Regions from separate parts of the Homo sapiens genome. Here region 2 is linked to region 1. Evidence: promoter capture Hi-C in human tissues and cell types (Jung and others, 2019). All regions are on one chromosome and are shown on one strand. The core of a region is centred on a gene start or on the middle of the fragment in contact, and the rest is flanking DNA. Distances in the headings are between cores, read along the strand shown.

Region 1 (4,569 bases), core at 1,144-3,643:
CAGAAGACAACTTAATTTCCTTTTTCCTACTTCTTGAGGAGGGGCAGCACCTCCTGGTTGCCCCCATATATCATCTACAATGAAACCATGGGAAGAGCTGCAGGGTGGGGGCTGTAGTCTAGGTAAAGAAGGCCCATTCTCCAAACATAAATTTCCAGCCTCCCTTGAGGTCTATACCACCAATTATTCCAATAAAGTCATTTTCTGCTTACATTTGTCTAAGGTTGGTTTTTTGTTTGTTTGTTTTGTTTTGTTTTTTTGTTTTGAGACAGAGTCTCGCTCTGTCGCCCAGGCTGGAGTGCAATGGCGCAATCTCGGCTCACTGTGAGCTCCGCCTCCCGGGTTCACGCCATTCTCCTGCCTCAGCCTCCTGAGTAGCTGGGACTACAGGTGCCCACCACGACACCCGGCTAATTTTCTTGTATTTTTAGTAGAGATGGGGTTTCACCGTGTTAGCCAGGATGGTCTCGATCTCCTGACCTTGTGATCTGCCCGCCTCAGCCTCCCAAAGTGCTGGGATTACAGGCGTGAGCCACTGTGCCCTGCCTAAGGTTGGTTTTTGTTATTTGTAACCAATAACCCAGACTAGTACAGCAACCATCTCAGACATCTGTGGACCAGAGAAAAGTCACTAAAGGACAATCCAATGCCTGTGCCTTGGGGCTGCAACCAAACCTGGAACCCTTCTGATTTGTGTCTTCCGTTTAGCACAAAGCAGGGCACACAAGCTGTCTCAGTGAAATCTGGTTAGCTGAGTCCCTCAGTAAGTCAGTTAGTTCACAAATGTCTGCCAGAAGCTGTTCTAGGTGCAGAAATCACAAAGCAAGTAGGAGCAGGTTTCTGCCTTCAAGATGTCCCACATGCAGCACAGACCCAACGTATCTAAAACGGAAGGCTGTCATTTTCCCTGCCTTCCCAACCCATATAACAACACACATCCGTGTCCCATGCTCCAACCACACTGAATTGCTTGCCCTTCTCACTTCCGTCTGCCAACAGTGAGTAGTTTGGTGTTCTTAGACCACAGGGGTGGGAGGGAAAGAGAGAGACAGCAGACAATCAGGCTGGGGTAGACAGACACCAGACCTTGATGCCAGGTGGAGGAATCTAGATGTATTGGCTGCTGTCCCAAGTTACTCTCCTCTGGCCTAAATCTCAGACTGGCCGTATAGTTTAATTTTTTCTCTTCCACCAAAGGTCATCTGTGTAGAAGATGACACAAAGGGGGACCCAGCACGGTGACCCGTGCCTGTAATCCCTGCACTTTCGGAGGCTAAGGAGGGAGGATCATTTGAGCCCAGGAGTTCGAGGCTGCAGCGAGTCATGATCGAGCCACTGCACTCCAGCCTTGACGCTGAGTGAGACCCTGTCTCTTAACAAAATATATTTAAAATTTAAAAAGAAGATTATACAAAGGGGTTATCTATCATCTTGGCCAGCAATGCAGGGCAAAACTTGAAACAACTTGGTCCTGCAGTATTTTCCAGATGCCAAATCCTCATTCTCTACTGTACAGCTCCTACAGTGTTTTGTGTGAGATGAGAGGGAGCATGGCGGGTCTCAGCTGGCTTTGCCCTGGGAAAAATTCCTCATTTCTGCACCGCCTCCCCAAAGCGGGGGCTAAGCCAGCGCCGTCTGCCTCTCCACCTAGACCAGACCCCTTCCCTAGATGCTCTTATTTCCCTGAAGCCTCACAACAACCCTGTGAGGTAAGCATTACCATCCCTTCATTTTACAGATGAAACTGAAGCTCAGGAAGGTTACGTTTCGGGCTCTAAATCCCGGAATCTTCGCTTCGATGCCATCCAGGCTTGGGCCACTGAGCTCAAGAAACGGGCCGACGGGTGACCAGACGGACGCCGGGACCAGCCCAAGTTCAGGGCTGAGGGCCGCCAGGTGGCGCGTTTCCCTCCCCCTACCCCTCGCGGCGGCTCGGGCGCACCTGAACCCAGCGGGGTGCGCCGGGGAAAGTAGGCGCGCAGGGTGGGGCGGGGAGTAGCCCTAATTCCCCAGCTCGGAGTGGGCAAGGAGCACGGTTTAGCTCAGCCGGCTGGCACCGCCAAGCGGCCGCCGGGCCGCATCAGCCCTCCTCCTGTTTGCGCTCCCCAGCGTGCAATTTATTTGGGGGGCTACCGGGGATTGAACGGAGCGGGCGAGCGCTGCCAGGAGGTGGGGCCGGCCCCACCTGTCGACTGCCCGTAGTAGGCAGGGAGAGGGCGGGGTTTGTCCCATAGGGCCCGCCCCCCAGTCCCTGGGTCCCGGGCGCGCGACGAGATATAAGGCAGTCAGGAAACAATGCGCCTGCAGCTCGCGCTCCCGCGCCGATCCCGAGAGCGTCCGGGCCGCCGTGCGCGAGCGAGGGAGGGCGCGCGCGCGGGGGGGGCGCGCTTGTGAGTGCGGGCCGCGCTCTCGGCGGCGCGCATGTGCGTGTGTGCTGGCTGCCGGGCTGCCCCGAGCCGGCGGGGAGCCGGTCCGCTCCAGGTGGCGGGCGGCTGGAGCGAGGTGAGGCTGCGGGTGGCCAGGGCACGGGCGCGGGTCCCGCGGTGCGGGCTGGCTGCAGGCTGCCTTCTGGGCACGGCGCGCCCCCGCCCGGCCCCGCCGGGCCCTGGGAGCTGCGCTCCGGGCGGCGCTGGCAAAGTTTGCTTTGAACTCGCTGCCCACAGTCGGGTCCGCGCGCTGCGATTGGCTTCCCCTACCACTCTGACCCGGGGCCCGGCTTCCCGGGACGCGAGGACTGGGCGCAGGCTGCAAGCTGGTGGGGTTGGGGAGGAACGAGAGCCCGGCAGCCGACTGTGCCGAGGGACCCGGGGACACCTCCTTCGCCCGGCCGGCACCCGGTCAGCACGTCCCCCCTTCCCTCCCGCAGGGAGCGGACATGGACTACGACTCGTACCAGCACTATTTCTACGACTATGACTGCGGGGAGGATTTCTACCGCTCCACGGCGCCCAGCGAGGACATCTGGAAGAAATTCGAGCTGGTGCCATCGCCCCCCACGTCGCCGCCCTGGGGCTTGGGTCCCGGCGCAGGGGACCCGGCCCCCGGGATTGGTCCCCCGGAGCCGTGGCCCGGAGGGTGCACCGGAGACGAAGCGGAATCCCGGGGCCACTCGAAAGGCTGGGGCAGGAACTACGCCTCCATCATACGCCGTGACTGCATGTGGAGCGGCTTCTCGGCCCGGGAACGGCTGGAGAGAGCTGTGAGCGACCGGCTCGCTCCTGGCGCGCCCCGGGGGAACCCGCCCAAGGCGTCCGCCGCCCCGGACTGCACTCCCAGCCTCGAAGCCGGCAACCCGGCGCCCGCCGCCCCCTGTCCGCTGGGCGAACCCAAGACCCAGGCCTGCTCCGGGTCCGAGAGCCCAAGCGACTCGGGTAAGGACCTCCCCGAGCCATCCAAGAGGGGGCCACCCCATGGGTGGCCAAAGCTCTGCCCCTGCCTGAGGTCAGGCATTGGCTCTTCTCAAGCTCTTGGGCCATCTCCGCCTCTCTTTGGCTGAAGCTGCCCGTGTAGTCCCCAACCGTGTCTGTCTGGCACGTGGGTGTGTTGGTAAACAGTTTGGAAAAGTGGCGTGGGAGCCAGCCTCCCTTTGATGATTATTGGAGCCCCAGGGGACAAGGGATTTGAGGTGAGGGTTGGCGCTTAGAGAGGACAATACTGGGGTTGGACTGTAAGGGATTGAAGGGGGTACCTTAAGAGACACTCCAAACCTGAAGTTTTTTTGCTGCTGCCTCTTTCCCTAGGAAACTCACACTCCCCTAGGGGGAGAAGAAGCCGAGAGCCTTTTGTGCAAAGCCAAAACCTTCGTCCTTTTAAAAACCTAGGTCTCCAGTTGGCTTTACTTTAAAATGCCAATAATAAATGCCCTCTTCTCGTGCCTCCCCACCACCACTTACCACTCGTGCATCCCTGAGACAGGGAGGGAAGAATGAACACTCCCCATTAACAGATGGAAAAACTGAGGCTTAGAGATAGACAATCACTACAAGTCAGCTCCAGCTTTCTGCCATCTAGCCAGCCCCTCTTCCCCAATGCTCCATCCCAACCAGGCACCTCTTCCTTGATGTTTGGGGTCTTTGTGGTAGCTTATCTTAGAAGCACTACACCTTGCCTTGCTGTTTGTCCTGAGATGGAAAAGTGTCCTTCTTGCTCCCCCTCAATAGATCTCCAGCGTCAGCTGCTCCCTGGCATTCAACAAATATTCACTGGCCCCTACTTTGTGGCAATCTGTGGGCTACATGCTGGGGTCAAGGCAGTAGAACTCCAGGCCCTCCTCTCCCATCCTTGATGCAAGTGCAACCTCGCTGAGGGCAGACTGGGGCATCCTGTGCCACTAAACTACATTGTTCTTATTCTGGCATCTTAGACCTCCACACCCGTGAGAAATCCTGGAGAGGGTATTTTTGTAGAGTGTAGACTGTGGCTAGTGACAAATAAATTAGGACCAAGAAAGCTCACTGTAGCTTTTAGGAATAACTTTTACACGACCATTTGATAGGGAACTGGGGAATGGGGTATGGAAGTTTTCCTACACTTGAGAGAAAAAATAGGATAACAAAAATTAAAAGTCTT
Region 2 (4,735 bases), core at 1,838-4,337, 100 kb before region 1:
CCCCCACCCAATCACATTGTCTTGCCATTGATTGGCCAGCACATCAGTTGGTTTAGCGCTTTGCCAGGTAGGTTGTGGAACTCAGCCTTCAAGGTAGCACCAAATGACTCTCACCTCTTGATCCATGCCTTTGTGTAGTCCCCTCCCATATTAGGTATATCCTAGAATATTTTAGATTGTTGGAATTATAGCCCTTCCCCAGCATAGCTACATCTTCTGCTCTAAGTTGATCAGTTTCTATCACTTTAGTAAACTATTTATCTGTCTGGTTTCAGCTCTTTCTTCACTCTGGACCCTGGAGATGTTTTTTTTCTTCCAACTTCATTCTACATTTCTTTAAATTTTGGCCAGCATTTCTTTTTCTTTCTTTCTTTCTTTTTTTTTTTTTTTTTTTTTTTTTTGAGGTGGAGTCTCACTCTTGTAGCCCAGGCTGGAGTGCAGTGGCGCCATCTCAGCTCACCACAACCTCCACCTCCCAGGTTCAACCAACTCTCCTGCCTCAGCCTCCCAAGTAGCTGAGATTACAGGCACCTGCCACCACATCCGGCTAATTTTTGTATTTTTAGTAGAGAAGGGGTTTCGCCATATTGGCCAGGCTGGTCTCAAACTCGTGACCTCAGGCGATCCACCCGCCTTGGCCTCCCCAGGTGTTGGGATTACAGACGTGAGCCACTGTGCCCAGTCTGGCCAGCATTTCTAAATATTTATTACAAGAACATCTTCAGATTATATAGTCAGCAGATGTTGAATTGAATGTTCTGTGTGTTTACTTTTCTGTCTCTCCAACTAGACTACGAGCTTCATAGATTGTCTTGCTCATAATTGTGTTCCCATAAACTAGCACTGTGGCTGGTACATAGTAGGCATTCATTACATGTGTGTTGAATGAATGAATGTAACCAGGGAAGGGATGAATGCCATAACCGGACATGAATTGTCTCCTTTTGGAAGGAGTTGAGTGCATTTTTTGCTTGCATATGAGATAGTTACAAAAATAAAGAAATTAATTGATTAATGAAGATATATCAGACTTGCCCATTTAAGATTATCATTCAGAATTGTCTACTGTTGATAATGAAACCTCAAGAGTTGCATTTTACATATTATTGCTTGGCCCACAAATACAGTGGTTATTTGAGTTTTACTTCTTCTTATATGTTATTTTTAAGCCTTGAAAGTCTCCAGAGGAAGTGGAATTTGGTTATGCTGACCTAGTTATAACACTGACTCGACATGGCTTTCTCTATGTCAGGGTAATAGAAATAAAATTTATTTCTGTGAATATATCATTTGCATTGGCATTTATAGAGCTTAGTATTTAATTGATGACTATTTTAGTGATTGACTTGAAAATTTACATTGTTTAGAATAGGTATCCCTTAGACTGTGGAGTCATAGACCTGGTCAATTTCATGATCAAAAAAGAATTCTTGAATTAGACTCAATCAATTTAGTAAACTATTTCACTTTAAAAAAAAAGAATTCTCAATTGTCTTTTTCAAACATGTGTTTACCCTCATCTTCCATTTTTCTTTATTCTTTCTCTTTTTTTTTTTTTTTTTTGAGATGGAGTTTTGCTCTTGTCGCCCAGGCTAGAGTGAAATGGCACAATCTTGGCTCACTGCAACCTCCACCTCCTGGGTTCAAGCGATTCTCCTACCTCAGCCTCCCGAGTAGCTAGGATTACAGCCGTGTGCCACCACACTCAGCTAATTTTTTGTATTTTTAGTAGAGATGGGGTTTTACCATGTTAGCCAGGCTGGTCTCGAACTCCTGACCTCAAGTGATCCTCCCGTCTCGGCCTCCCAAAGGGCTGGGATCACAGGCATGAGCCACTGCGCCCAGCCATCTTCCTTTTTTCTGTAATTTCATCTACTAGGTCAGGCCAAACTCTAGGAAGCAACCTTCAATCCTCTTTTCCTCCCATCTCTCAACCCCCACCCCACCCACCTCACGTTCAATTCTTTAGCAGTCCTGTTGTCTCTCCCTTCAAAAGATATCCAGGATCCAACCACTTATCAGAAGTCCCACCTACCAACGCTAAACCCACATCATCTCCTGCCTACACCACTGCAATACCCCCTTAACTCATTTGCCTGCTTTTACTCTTGTCCCCACTATCAGCTCTCCACACAACAGCTAGGGGAACTTTTCAAAATACAAATCAGATCACATCAGATATATAGTCACAGGTCAATTTAAAAGACAGCTTCCAGCCTGGCCAACATGGCAAAACCTTGTCTCTACTAAAAATATGAAATTTAGTTGGGTGTGATGGCCAGCGCCTGTAATCCCAGCTACTCAGGAGGCTGAGACAGAAGAATTGCTTAAACCCTGGAGGCCGAGGTTGCAGTGAGCCAAAATCAGCCACTGCAATCTAGCCTGGGTGACAGAGCGAGACTCCATCTCAAAAAAAAAAAAAGATAGCTGGAAAACATAGCTTCTGTGTCATCCCTGGCTATACTATAGCAAGCCAGGGGCCATCTCATTAAAAATGGTGTGATATTCCATCCCTAGCAAATTAATTTTTTTTTTTAAAAAAAGGAGGGAGATCTTACTGCCAAGGGAACTTATAAATAACAGAGGTTGGCCTAATCATCTTGGCTCTTTTCCACACTTCATAATACAGTACAAACAACCTCTGAACAATCAGCATAATGCTGAGAAAATAGTCATAATAACCCGGATGTTTTCCGGATAGATTCTTGCTATTTCTACTTGTTTCTCTCATTTCAAAGTTGACCTTTAATGAGCTAGTGAAAGGCTGGTTTCTGTGATGATCCAGGCTTCCTGCTCTGATGTTATGCTACCCATTCAGCAGTAATTAATATGGTGGAATTTGGTCCTTTTCCACATTGCCTTCCAGAAGGACTGATGGCCAGAAATAAAGCAGGCAGAAAGAAGTTTCCCAAATCTCAGGCAGGCTTAGAGGCATATTTACCATGAAGCTAAGGAAGCTTAAAATTTAAGAACCCTTACTTGCAAAACACTTTTCCAAGAACTTGTACCTAATTTTGTATTCATACTTTTGTATTCTTTTTCTTTTCTCTTCTTTTTTGAGAGAAGTCTTGCTCTTGTCCCCCAGGTTTGAGTGCAATGGCTTTATCTTGGCTCACTGCAACCTCTGCCTCCCGAGTTCAAATGATTCTCCTGTCTCTGCCTCCCAAGTAGCTGGGATTAAGGCGCCTGCCAACACGCCTGGCTAATTTTTGTATTTTTTAGTAGAGATGGGGTTTCACCATGTTGGCCAGGCTGGTCTCGAACTCCTGACCTCAGATGATCCACCTGCCTCGGCCTCCCAAAGTGCTGGGATTACAGGCGTGAGCCACCGTGCCCGGTTGTATTCTTTTTCTTAAAGGACTCCACCTGTTTGAAAGCAAGCTTTCAGTTCCTCTTCCTAGGTTTTATGACAATTACCAGGAATAGGAGACATGAAGAACTAGGGGAAGGGAGCAGCAAATGCAAAGCTCCTGTGGCCTTCCATTTGGCTGGTACGAGGTTATCAGGTTGCTTACGGGATGAGAAATCTTCTGTCCTAACCATCTCATGTCATCAGCATCCATATACTTTTTTTTTTTTTGAGACAGAGTCTCACTCTGTTGCCCAGGCTGGAGTGCGGTGGCGCCATTTCAGCTCACCGCAACCTCTGCCTACCAGGTTCAAGCAATTCTCATGCCTCAGCCTCCCAAGTAGCTGGGATTACAGGCATGCACCACCACACCTGGCTAATTTTTGTGTTTTTAGTAGAGACGGGTTTTCACCATGTTGGCCAGACTGGTCTCAAACTCCCAACCTCAGGTGTTCTGCCCACCTCAGCCTCCCAAAGTGCTGGGATTACAAGCGTGAGCCACTGCACCCGGCCTCAGCATTCATACTCTTTTTTTTTTTTTTTTTTTAATTTATTTTTTTATTGATAATTCTTGGGTGTTTCTCACAGAGGGGGATTTGGCAGGGTCATGGGACAATAGTGGAGGGAAGGTCAGCAGATAAACAAGTGAACCTTTGTTTTCCTAGGCAGAGGACCCTGCGGCCTTCCGCAGTGTTTGTGTCCCTGATTACTTGAGATTAGGGATTGGTGATGACTCTTAACGAGCATGCTGCCTTCAAGCATCTGTTTAACAAAGCACATCTTGCACCGCCCTTAATCCATTTAACCCTGAGTGGACACAGCACATGTTTCAGAGAGCACAGGGTTGGGGTAAGGTCACAGATCAACAGGATCCCAAGGCAGAAGAATTTTTCTTAGTGCAGAACAAAATGAAAAGTCTCCCATGTCTACTTCTTTCTACACAGACACGGCAACCATCCGATTTCTCCATCTTTTCCCCACCTTTCCCGCCTTTCTATTCCACAAAGCCGCCATTGTCATCCTGGCCCGTTCTCAATGAGCTGTTGGGCACACCTCCCAGACGGGGTGGTGGCCGGGCTGAGGGGCTCCTCACTTCCCAGTAGGGGCGGCCGGGCAGAGGCGCCCCTCACCTCCCGGACGGGGCGGCTGGCCGGGCGGGGGGCTGACCCCCCCACCTCCCTCCCGGACGGCACGGCTGGCCGGGTGGGGGGGCTGACCCCCCACCTCCCTCCCGGATGGGGCGGCTGCCGGGCGGAGACGCTCCTCACTTCCCAGATGGGGTGGCTGCCGGGCGGAGAGGCTCCTCACTTCTCAGACGGGGCAGCTGCCGGGCGGAGGGGCTCCTCACTTCTCAGACGGGGTGGTTGCCAGGCAGAGGGTCTCCTC

The links. The method cuts DNA at HindIII sites, captures the fragments that hold promoters and counts their contacts. A contact is called where the count stands out against the background at its distance.
Region 2: a fragment that was not itself captured here is called in contact with the fragment with the promoter of MYCL in region 1 in 6 of the 25 tissues and cell types used here (IMR-90 fibroblasts, dorsolateral prefrontal cortex, hippocampus and 3 more).

What each region holds. Positions count from the first base shown.
Region 1 is chr1:39,899,741-39,904,309 of GRCh38, reverse strand. MYCL (MYCL proto-oncogene, bHLH transcription factor) reads left to right here and starts at 2,393. Exons shown (of 2, transcript NM_001033081.3): 1 at 2,393-3,371. The coding sequence starts at 2,876. RefSeq lists silencers at 1,820-2,029, 2,290-2,609, 3,020-3,139. The HindIII fragment of the contact is 12,166 bases long and covers 1-4,569 here.
Region 2 is chr1:39,999,788-40,004,522 of GRCh38, reverse strand. No RefSeq gene overlaps it. Among named protein-coding and RNA genes, the nearest start is that of CAP1, 39 kb to the left of the region's middle. The HindIII fragment of the contact is 5,951 bases long and covers 112-4,735 here.